2 separate regions of the Homo sapiens genome follow, and region 2 is linked to region 1. The links are contacts of gene promoters, found by promoter capture Hi-C in blood cells and fetal thymus (Javierre and others, 2016). All regions are on one chromosome and are shown on one strand. The core of a region is centred on a gene start or on the middle of the fragment in contact, and the rest is flanking DNA. Distances in the headings are between cores, read along the strand shown. Region 1 holds the start of ARMCX5 (armadillo repeat containing X-linked 5). Region 2 overlaps ARMCX5-GPRASP2 (ARMCX5-GPRASP2 readthrough).

What was found. The method cuts DNA at HindIII sites, captures the fragments that hold promoters and counts their contacts. A CHiCAGO score of 5 or more calls a contact.
Region 2: a fragment that was not itself captured here is called in contact with the fragment with the promoter of ARMCX5 in region 1 in 3 of 17 cell types (megakaryocytes, M1 macrophages and endothelial precursors); the score reaches 6.2 in megakaryocytes.

Annotation. Positions count from the first base shown.
Region 1 is chrX:102,595,139-102,600,785 of GRCh38, reverse strand. ARMCX5 (armadillo repeat containing X-linked 5) reads right to left here and starts at 1,271. Exons shown (of 4, transcript NM_001168478.2): 1 at 939-1,271. It overlaps ARMCX5-GPRASP2 (ARMCX5-GPRASP2 readthrough), which reads right to left and starts at 1,271. Exons shown (of 19, transcript NR_146584.3): 1 at 939-1,271. RefSeq lists enhancers at 972-1,021, 454-1,225. The HindIII fragment of the contact is 9,703 bases long and covers 1-5,647 here.
Region 2 is chrX:102,837,907-102,842,860 of GRCh38, reverse strand. ARMCX5-GPRASP2 (ARMCX5-GPRASP2 readthrough) reads right to left here. Exons shown (of 19, transcript NR_146584.3): 11 at 2,889-3,060. The region is part of intron 2 of LINC00630 (long intergenic non-protein coding RNA 630); the gene reads right to left. Among named protein-coding and RNA genes, the nearest start is that of LINC00630, 71 kb to the right of the region's middle. The HindIII fragment of the contact is 3,579 bases long and covers 608-4,186 here.

The sequences.
Region 1 (5,647 bases), core at 22-2,521:
CTCCCCTTTTTCTCCCACTCCTAAATCTCCAAGCCCCTCTGCTCTATTCTCAAAGTCTGACAATTCCTATACAGAGACAACTCAAACATCCCTACAAGGTAGTAGTAGTGGTGTTAGTAGGGACGAAATGCCTAGACAAACCACGGAGGCTGGGGAAAAAATGAAAAGTATTTATTTCCATATTTCATCTGGGTTCCTATGTTTCCTTCCTCTCTCCCAAAGCCTATCATTTTCTGCAACATAATGCGGGTAAGGGAGGACATGTTAGGAAAGCTGGCAGAGAGTTCTGGAGGCTCCCTTACACTCCTGCCTACTCTAATCTTAGCCATCTACCACCTCCAAGTACTGCCTCCCAAGTACTGCCCACTCTGTACAAACCAGGCCAATTTTCTTTTCCTTCTCCTCTCCCCTTGAGGTCTGCTGTCCCCTACAGATCTTTACAGAAACATGGAGTGCTGCAAACTTAGGAACAGATTTACACATAAAAACGCGTGATACACACCCAAAGAACAAATGAAAAGACAGAGAGAGAGACGTGGTTATTAATGGTCAGACCAGTAACCAAGACATGAGACCCTTTTCAAATCCAGAGCCTTGATTATCAAACATTTACAACCTCTTTTTACATTCTCTCCCTCTCAGGGCTCCCCAGACAACTGTCCTCGCCTGTGGAAGTAGCCCTCTCTTCCTCATCTAGTCTGCCTTTTCCCTGCTAGAAGCTGCAACCTTTTTCTTCCCAAGCATGGTCTGAGGTGAACCGAGTGTATGGAAATCAAGCTAGCAAAAGGTAGATCATTTTTTTTTAATTGTTGTGTGCCATTCCAATTACCCATCTCTCTCTCCTTCTCACCGCCCGCCTCCCATGACCAGGTCGCGTATCCAGTGTTCACCTCTGATACCCACATCCACCCCCAAGCGATGCGCACCTTCTCACTGACCTTCTCTGCTTGGATCAGAGGCAGTTTTCTTATTTCCTTGCCTCGAGGTGCTGTGTCATACAGCAGCAGGAACAGACAGTCAGACACAAGGACTCGAGGCAATGGCGGCGGCTGTGTATGGGGATTGACTCGGCACCTGGGACTCAAGACGAGATAACCGCTTTATCAGATTAAAGACTGCGATTGGCAAACTGTTGTCACTTTTGGTATTCTTTTCTCCTTCCTGTTCCCAGGGCTCCTCAGAACCTCGCGCGTAGTTACCATTTAACATCTACCTTTTCCTCCGCAGACGAGGTTCTTCCACGTCCGCGTTACCCACAACGGCAGTGGGAGGAGCTAGAGCGTAGTTTATGGGGATCCGGCTTATGGAAGCGGAGTGATATCAGGCTTTGTTTAGCGCCGCGACTCTTTTCTGTCGGAGGGCTCCCTGTCCTGTACCCTGTGGCCGCTTCAGGTATTGGAATGCGCAGGGACGAATTCCGGATATAGGGAAAACGGCGCTGGAACAAGAGAGGCAGACAAATACCAGAGTGTTTCTGTATTAGTTCCCCTTTTGCGGGAGCTCCCCCCACCAAGCCTACCATTCTTTCCTGAACTGAAATGCACATGGGTTTCCAGCTGTGGTGTCAGGAAATCTCTTCTGGCCTGACAGGCGGAAGTGTTCCAGTCTTTCGAAGTTCGTTCTCCAAACACAGAGGCCCACTGAAATGGGCGGTCTCGGGGTGGGGCCCAGGGTAGGAAAGTCAGCAAAGAGAGTCAAGACTGAGATAGGAGGATACATACTAATCGATTCCACAAACTTTGTGTTCCTTCGAGTCCTCCCTCCCAGCCCTTAATTTTCATTTTCTTTTTTTTTTTTTTAAGTTCTAGGATACATGTGCAGGATGTGCGTGTTTGTTAAATAGGCAAACGTGTGCCGTGGTGGCTTGCTGCACCAATCAACCTATGACCTAGGTATTAAGCCTGGCATGCATTAGCTATTTTTCCTAAGGCTTTCCCTCACCGCCCCCCACAACCCCTGACAGGTCCCAGTGCGTGTTTTTCCCCTCCCTGTGTACATGTGTTCTCATTGTTCAGCTTCCACTTATAAGGGAGAACATGCAGTATTTGTTTTCTGTTGCTGCATTAGTTTGCTGAGGATAATGGCTTCCAGCTCGATCCATGTCCCTACAAAGGACATGATCTCATTCTTTATTATGGCTGCATGGTATTTCATGGTGTATATGCACCACATTTTCTTAATGTTATCACTGATGGGCATTTGGGTTGATGCCACGTCTTTGCTATTGTGAATAGTGCGGCAATGAATATACGTGTGCGTGTATCTTTGTAATAGAATGATTTATATTCCTTTGGGTATATACCCAGTAATGGGATTGCTGGGTCAAATGGTATTTCTGGTTCTAGATATTTGAGGAATTGCCACACCGTCTTCCACAATGGTTGAACTAATTTACATTCCCACCAATGTAAAAGCGTTCCCATTTCTCTGCAACTTTGCCAGCATCTCTTGTTTCTTAACTTTGTATTAATTGCCGTTATGACTGGTGTGAGATGGTATCTCATTGTGATTTTGATTTGCATTTCTCTAATGATCAGTGATGTTGAGCTTTTTTCCATGTGTTTGTTGGCCACATAAATGTCTTCTTTTGAGAAGTGTCTGTTCATGTCCTTTGCCCACTTTTTAATGGGGTTGTTTGTTTTTTTCTCGTAAATGTAAGTTCCTTGTAGATTCTGGATATTAGACCTTTGTCAGATAGATAGACTGCAAAAATTTTCTCTTCTGTAGGTTACCTGTTCACTCGGATGATAGTTTCTTTTTCTGTGCAGAAGCTCTTTAGTTTAATTAGATCCCATTTGTCAAATTTTGCTTTTGTTGCAATTGCTTTTGGCAATTTGCCTGTGCCTGTGTCCTGAATGGTATTGCCTAAATTTTCTTCCAGGGTTTTTATAGTTTTGAGTTTGACATTTAAGTCTTTAATCCATCTTGAGTTAAATTTTGTATAAGGTGTAAGCAAGGGGTCAAGTTTCAGTTTTCTACATATGGCTAGCCAGTTTTCCCAGCACCATTTATTAAATAGGTAATCCTTTCCCCATTGCTTGTTTTTGTCAGGTTTGTCGAAGATCAAATAGCTGTATATGTGCAGTCTTATTTCTGAGTTCTCTATTCTGTTCGACTGGTCTATGTGTCTGTTTTTGTACCAGAACCATGCTGTTCTACAAGGTTACTGTAGCCTTGTAGTATAGTTTGAAGTCAGGTAGTGTGATGCCTCCAGCTTTGTTCTTTTTACTTAGGATTGTCTTGGCTATACGAGCTCTTTTTTGGCTCTGCGTGAATTTTAAAATAGTTTCTTCTAATTCGGTGAGAAATGTCAATGGTAGTTTGATGGGAATAGCATTGAATCTATAAATTACTTTGGGCAGTATGGCCATTTTCACGATATTGATTCTTCCTATCCATGAGCATGGAATGTTTTTCTATCTGCTTGTTTCCTCTTTGATTTCCTTGAGCAGTGGTTTGTAGTTCCCCTTGAGTAATGATCTTACTGCTAAAGTATGTCTATCAACTGATAAAATTTTAAAATCATCATTCATTTTCATAATAACTGCTGTTTTATGACTTATGTAATTATCTTAGGAACATTTCAGACATTTGAAAGATCCAAAGCAGAAAAGGTATCTTATATACACCTTAAAAAATGAGGATATCAGAGAATAACCTAAGTATATTATTAGCGCCAGGCTTCATTTCTCTTTTTTGGGTGGCAGGCGCTATGAACAGTAAGTTGAAGCAAGGAGAAAAAAAAATGCCCTTGCTCCAAGATTTTTACTTGGCCTTCAACTTTTAGCCAGAAAGCCCATTGGAGATTCAAGTTGATTTTTATTGTTAAAGGAATACTCATACTTCTAATCTTACATTCTACCAAAAAGAAAAGTGACTTAATGCTTTCTCTAAGTACACCTCACGGCATTGCTTGAGAGCTGAAAGATCCAACACATGTTAGCAATTGTTAGTAGCAATTTTAGGTACTTAATTATCCATTCACTATTAATCACTTGGTGCATATTCTTCAGATTGTTTCTCTTTCTGTAATGTATTCTCAGATATCAAAACACTCCAATGTATAAACATGTAAAATACATTTCTTTGCAAAATCGTGATTACCCTCTGAGTAATATATTACCTTACCTCTTTTCCTTATTATGATATCTCTGGATTTTTATTTGCCATTTCATTTGGTTGAGCATATTTTCAAATATTTATTGTATATTTACATAGTTCTTTGTGCATTCTGTTATTATTTGCCAATTTCTCTATTTGTTAAGAGATCTTTGTATGCCAAGCATACTAACCCCATGTCTTCAATATAGATCATAAATATTTTCCTACACCTTTTTTGTGTGTATGTATGTATGTATATATGTGTGCATATATATATGCACTTATAAATAATTTATATTCTATTTATGCACAACTTGTGTATGCTATATATGGAGAAAGCTATACCAAAGACATTGATATGTAGTTATATGTATATAAAGCCATATGTATATATACATATATCTCTATACATAAGACATTTCAAATTTTATAGTTTTTTTAATTTTAAAATGTAGTATAGTTCGCTATTTAAGAGCAAATACAAACAATATACGTGAGGACATTGAAAGTCTATTGAAAGTCCACATGATGGGATAGAAAAATATTGGGATGTTTAGTATTTCCAGGGCTTGAGTCCCTGAAAAGTAATTCACAGTATTTTTTCTCTGGGGAAAGTCACTTCTCGTAACACTTGATATGAGTCATGGTAATAAAAATGGTAGGATCAAGGGAGATAAAAAATGTATAATACCTGGAATATAGTATTTCTAAAAGTTTTAATACCCTACCCCTTACTTCAGTTTTTCTATGTCAACAACCTGTGTTTCTGCCTGAATGACACAGCACCTCAGGGACTAGTCATTACCCATGACCCCCAACACCTAGGCCTCTTGGTACAGGGAGCAGGATTTCACCTACACCATCATTATTTTCATCATCAATAGAGTTGTTAAGTTAGTGAGGGCCACATCTTGGATGTGAACATGATGATATGAACAGTATGACATGGCTTTAGGGCCAGTACTCTTAACCACTGCACCACAGAACCTCTGTCCCAGAGATACCATGATCGCCAGAATCAGTGAGCATTTATGTGGTCACTCTCAACATCCCCTGTGGCCTATGTGCTGTGAAATATCAAGATAACCACTGAACAAGGTCTAGGTCTGTGTGGAAGTTATGATGACCTCTGTAAAACTGCATTAATGTATAAAAGAGAAGGGAAGCCTCACTGGAGATGTCAGAGTCTCCTTGAAGAGGAGCTGTACCCAGAACAATGGGCAGGACTTATGGAGGCTGGATGGGTAGAAGGGAGAGGGAGTCTAGTATGACTGGAGTGAAGACTGGGGTCCTCTCAGGTGAATAGACAGGGCTCAGAGATAACTGACTGGACACTACAGGGGTCTGAGGTCATCCTGGTGTAGGACCAATTAAGGAAAGAACACATTGGTTTCTACAGGATGCTACATAGTTCCTTTATACAATGAATTGGCACAAATGTTAGTAAGAAGAAAAGTGCCCATGTATCTGCCAGTCATTCATGGCGGCAGAGAAGAACCAGGAGCACTGAGAGTAGTAAAGATAAATTGCTGTTCAGTTTCCTAAG
Region 2 (4,954 bases), core at 1,148-3,647, 240 kb before region 1:
TGACCTGCAATTTGGTTAAGGAAGCTTGGGTGAGGGGGCAGGTTAGGAGTCATATGAACTTTTGGCCACAAAGAGGAAAGATAGCTAATATTTATGAAGCCGATTTTTAGCCAAGCCTAGTGCTACATTCTTCGCGTTAGTAGTTGGAATTAACCCACATAACAGCCCTGCTAGTGAGGTGTTGCTATTCTCTCTCCACAGACGGATGTGACTACAAAGCACATATTCCTTACCAGAGAAGGATGGCAAAGACATTGCTCACCAGGCCTACTGCTAGAGCCAGGAATAGAATCTGTCAATGTGGGCACCCTGAGGTGCTGGTGGCATTTCCAGCAAGGATCCAAGTTTGGTGCCCCTTCCCCTTGCTTCAGGAATGGTTTGTGGCAGAGCTAGAAGCAGAAGCTTCAGACATGAAGCCAGTATTTCTTCCATCTTTTATGAAAACTTAAGGAAAGGATTGGGCTGCTTATTATCTTGTAGGAAAGGGAGGACCTCTGAGGACACAGAGAAGGGAGAGGAAGAGAGATTTCTCCCAGACAGGAATGATGTCAGAGGTCTACAGGTCCCTCTAGGAGTAGGAACCTGAGAACTGCTCCATATCAAAGCTTGGAGTGGCTCCTGGATGGTCCACCTAGAGTGGGTATTCAACGTGAGACAGATTTTTCTGTTTGGATCAAAGGATAGATAACAGTGGTAGCATTTTTTTCTTATTTCTTGTATGTTTGATGCTCTGGCATCTGAGGCCTTGCTAACTGGGGAGGGACTACTCTGTCCAGGGTCAGCTAATTCCTAGTCCTAACAAAGAACTCACCTAAGGAGCACACCTTTTATATTCAAACTAACTAATACAGAGCACCTACACATACACACTCACACCTCCTCTACTGGGCTCTTATACTCCAGGCCAATAGTACCCTCCCCTAATCATACCAGAACCTGATTCTGTCAGAGGCATTTGAACCAGAGAAACTCTATTTTGAATAGGGGCTAAGTAAAATAAGGTTGAGACCTACTGGGCTGTATTCCCAGAAGGTCAAGGCATTCTTAGTCACAGGATGAGATAGGAGGTCATAAAGACTTTGCTGATAAAACGGGTTGCAGTAAAGAAGCCAGCTAAAACCCAACGAAACCAAAATGGCTATGAAAGTGACCTCTGGTTGTCCACACTGCTATTATAATGCATTAGCATGCTAAAAGACACTCCCACAAGCATCAAGACAGTTTACAAATGCCATGACAACATCAGGAAGTTACCCTATATGGTATAAAATGAGGAGAAACCTTCAGTTCTGGGAACTGCCCACACCTTTCCCGGAAAACTCATGAATAATCCACCCCCATGTTTAGCATATAATCAAGAAATATCCATAAAAATGGGCAACCAGCAGCCCTCGGGGCTGCTCTACCTATGGAGTAGCCATTTTTTTATTCTTTTACTTTCTAAATAAACTTGCTTTCACTTTACTCTATGGACCTGCCCCAAATTCTTTCCTGAGTGAGATCCAACAACCTTCTCTTGGGGTCTGGATCAGAACCTCTTTCCAGTAACAATTCCAGACAACTTAGGACAGCCCCTGCACCACAGAACCTACTGAAATTATTCCGAGTAGTCAGTCCTAAGCCTAATTATCCTGCCTTGTCTGTCATTTACCACGGAAAACCACAATAAAGGCTTTTGCCACGTTTACCTCCTGCCTAAATTGGTGGACTCTGAGTGGACTTATGTGGAATGGAGAGCGCCCCCTCTTGGGAACTTTGAGTAATAAACTATCTCCTTAATGGCAGTTGTCTCCTGATCCCTTGGCCTCACTATCCTAAATAATAAAACCTACATTGTAAAACAGTGCCTCAGGAAGAGGGGACTTGAAGGCTCTGAGTCAGCAAAGAAAATGGGCAGCTTCCTGAGTCATGTGGACAGATGAGTGATGACTGCCAGAGCTCTTCCTGCTATATCAGGAGGCTAAATTCCCACAAGTGTAACTGTTTCCTCAAAAAGCATGAAAATTTAACATTGCTGTACTGTCTAATTGAACTGTACAATCCTTTTATTAATATGTATCCCAACCAACTATGAGAAGAGAGCACCTGCTTTTACAGATTTGAACAAATAAGTTTCATAAGACTTTTTAAATATTTGCTGCTGATCTGATATCCTGGCGTTATAATGTTAGATTCCTTTTCATTTTTTTATCACATTTTTAAATAAATGACATAGTTTACATTTATGCCTCAGAATATATCATAGAATAATTATTGAGTTTAGAAATAAACCCTGATGACTGATAGTGTGTGTTTACACTACATCCCATTTAAATGGAAAATGTAGGTGAAAAGAACTTCATACACTAATGGGGAAGAACAAATTGGTACAATGTCTTTGCAGAGACATTTGTCAACATCTATGAGAAAACAAAATGAGGCCCCCATCAGATGCTACTCTCTTAATCACGGACTATAGAGAGAAACACACATGTTGCACCAGAAAAGGTATACAAGCATGGTCACAACAACATGTCTAGTCATATCAAAACAATCCCAAAGTCATCTTATTAGAGAAATCTCAGAAACATTATCTTCAGAGGATGAAAAGCTGGATAACAGCACTAACTTAGCTAAAAGTATGGAAACAATTGTATGCCTTGTGTAATTCTCTCACAAGAAGTCTGTGAGGAAGGCATCATTATTTCCAGTTTACAGATTACCAACTCAGACTCACTGATGGAAAATCAATTTTGCAGAGGCATCTAGTAATGATCAGGAGTGGGGATGTAACTCTTACTCTCCTCAAAGGACAACATATGATCTCCTTTTAGAGATGATGACCATCTAGGACTTAAACACTTGTCGTTTTTTTATGTTGCTAGGATTATGCCCTTATGCGTACTCACTCAACAACCTCTCTCTCTGAAGAAGCTGATGGTGCAGATGAAATCCCACTGCAAGGTCCTGTGGGTGGTAATGGGTCTAGCATGAGGGTCAAGGGCTTGTGACTCCTACCTCCTCTTCATCTGCACTCTCTTCATTTGAGACTCAATGGGAAACTGCTTTTCCAATATCAATCTAGAAGATCAAACAAGGGAGGAGAAAATGACAAGGAATTAAAGAAAATGGTTCAATGAGCTTCTTCAGTCTCCCTCAATCCTTCAGCAAAGTTCTCCTGCAACACAGAAATGGCCCCAGTGCTTCATTCACAATGTTCTACTTCCTGCTCCATTTCCTGGTGGTCTTTGTGGCAGTTATGCTGGTTGGATTAGGTGACAGTCATCATTTCTCTGAGAGGGAAGGAAAAGGTGGGCCAGGACAAACATTTGTTGAAGTCCTACTAGGTGCCATCTACTCTGTACAGGATTTCCAATTTACCCCACAGAACAGTTCTGTGAGGAAGGCATTGTGAGTTCCTTTTACAGATGACCAAGAACAGGCTGACAGAGGCTAAGAAAGGATTCCAGTGTCATACATCAAGTAAGGGACAGGAATGAAGTTACAGCTTTTGCCATCATCACAATGTCCATGCATTCTCAATAAAGGAGATATTGTCCCCAAGGGGCTGAAAATTGATTCTGGAGGGTGGGGAGATGGTAGACGTTACAATGGTTTGTGGCACTACAATGAACCACACAGCACACAAACAGTTAACACTATATCTGTGCTATTAAAATTTCATGTTCCAGGCAGGAAGGAGCTAACGAGAAAAAAAATGAATGTCTAAAAAGCCTCCTTTGGATCATAAATAATGAAAGAAAGTTAAGAAACATTGCATGTACTCGGGGACTTCTGCGGATGATGAGCCACCAAGGCTTAGGGACTAGTCACTTTACAATCCCTCATGGATGCTCACTCAACAACCCCTCTTGGTGATGATGAGGATAATGATGAAATCCTGCCCCTAGGGCCAAGAGACCTGTGTATGGGAACCATGTGAACTGACTGTCTTTTAAGATGGCAGACAGGGGCTCAGTCAGACAACAGGTATTTCTTCTGGGAGAGATGATATTAATGTTTTTAAAATTGTAATCATATCATACTCTAAGTTGTATATCCTTTAACCTTCACCTTCATCCAGGTAACCTATTGTGAAATCCATAGTTTAGGTCAGGTTATAGGAAGTTAGGAGAGGTTAAGTAAATCAGGGGAACTATGTTGTTAATGCCTGCTCGGTAATAGAACCTGGAGTTTCATTAAAGCTTTGTGCCCTGAGGCTGCCAGGAATCTGAGTGCTCCAATCTCCCTGGCACTCATGTTCCAGTCTGCACCACAGATACCAAGATGTTGGAGTTTCTATTGTGATGCATTTGTTCAATAAAATATCCCAGCATTTAACATAGGTATACATGAATCCATACCAATATAAACAAAAGTTTGAATTAATAAAGAAATAGGTGAGAGAAGGAAAATTGTCTTTTTCAAATAATTCTAAGTGAAATATGTAGCTATCTGCTCTCCCTGAGGTCAAGCTTAATTTTGCACCCCACTTGCTGAGGGTAGGGCTGATTTTGTGACTTTCTCCTAAAGAACAGAGTAGGGAATGAAAAATGGTTATTAGAAACTTGACAGACACCACTTTCACCAAGTGATGAAACATTATCACCAGTGACTTCATGTGGGCATTATGTAAACCCAGATATGATGTGACAAGAAGGGCACTTCAACTCTGTGGCATTCTTTCTCAAAACCTTTAACACTAGTCTAATCACAAGAAAAACTAAGTCTGTATTTCTCAAGACAATCAGTCATGAAAATCATCTGGCAGTTCCTCACATGGATAGAGTTATCATATGACCCAGCAATTCCATTCCTAGGTACACACCCAAGATCAACACATTTATCTACATAAAAACTTGTACACAAATGTACATAGCAACCTTATTTGCAATAGCCCAAAACTGGCAGCAACCCAAATGTCCACTAATTGATTAATGTGTTTAAAATGTGATATATTACGATTATTCTTTGC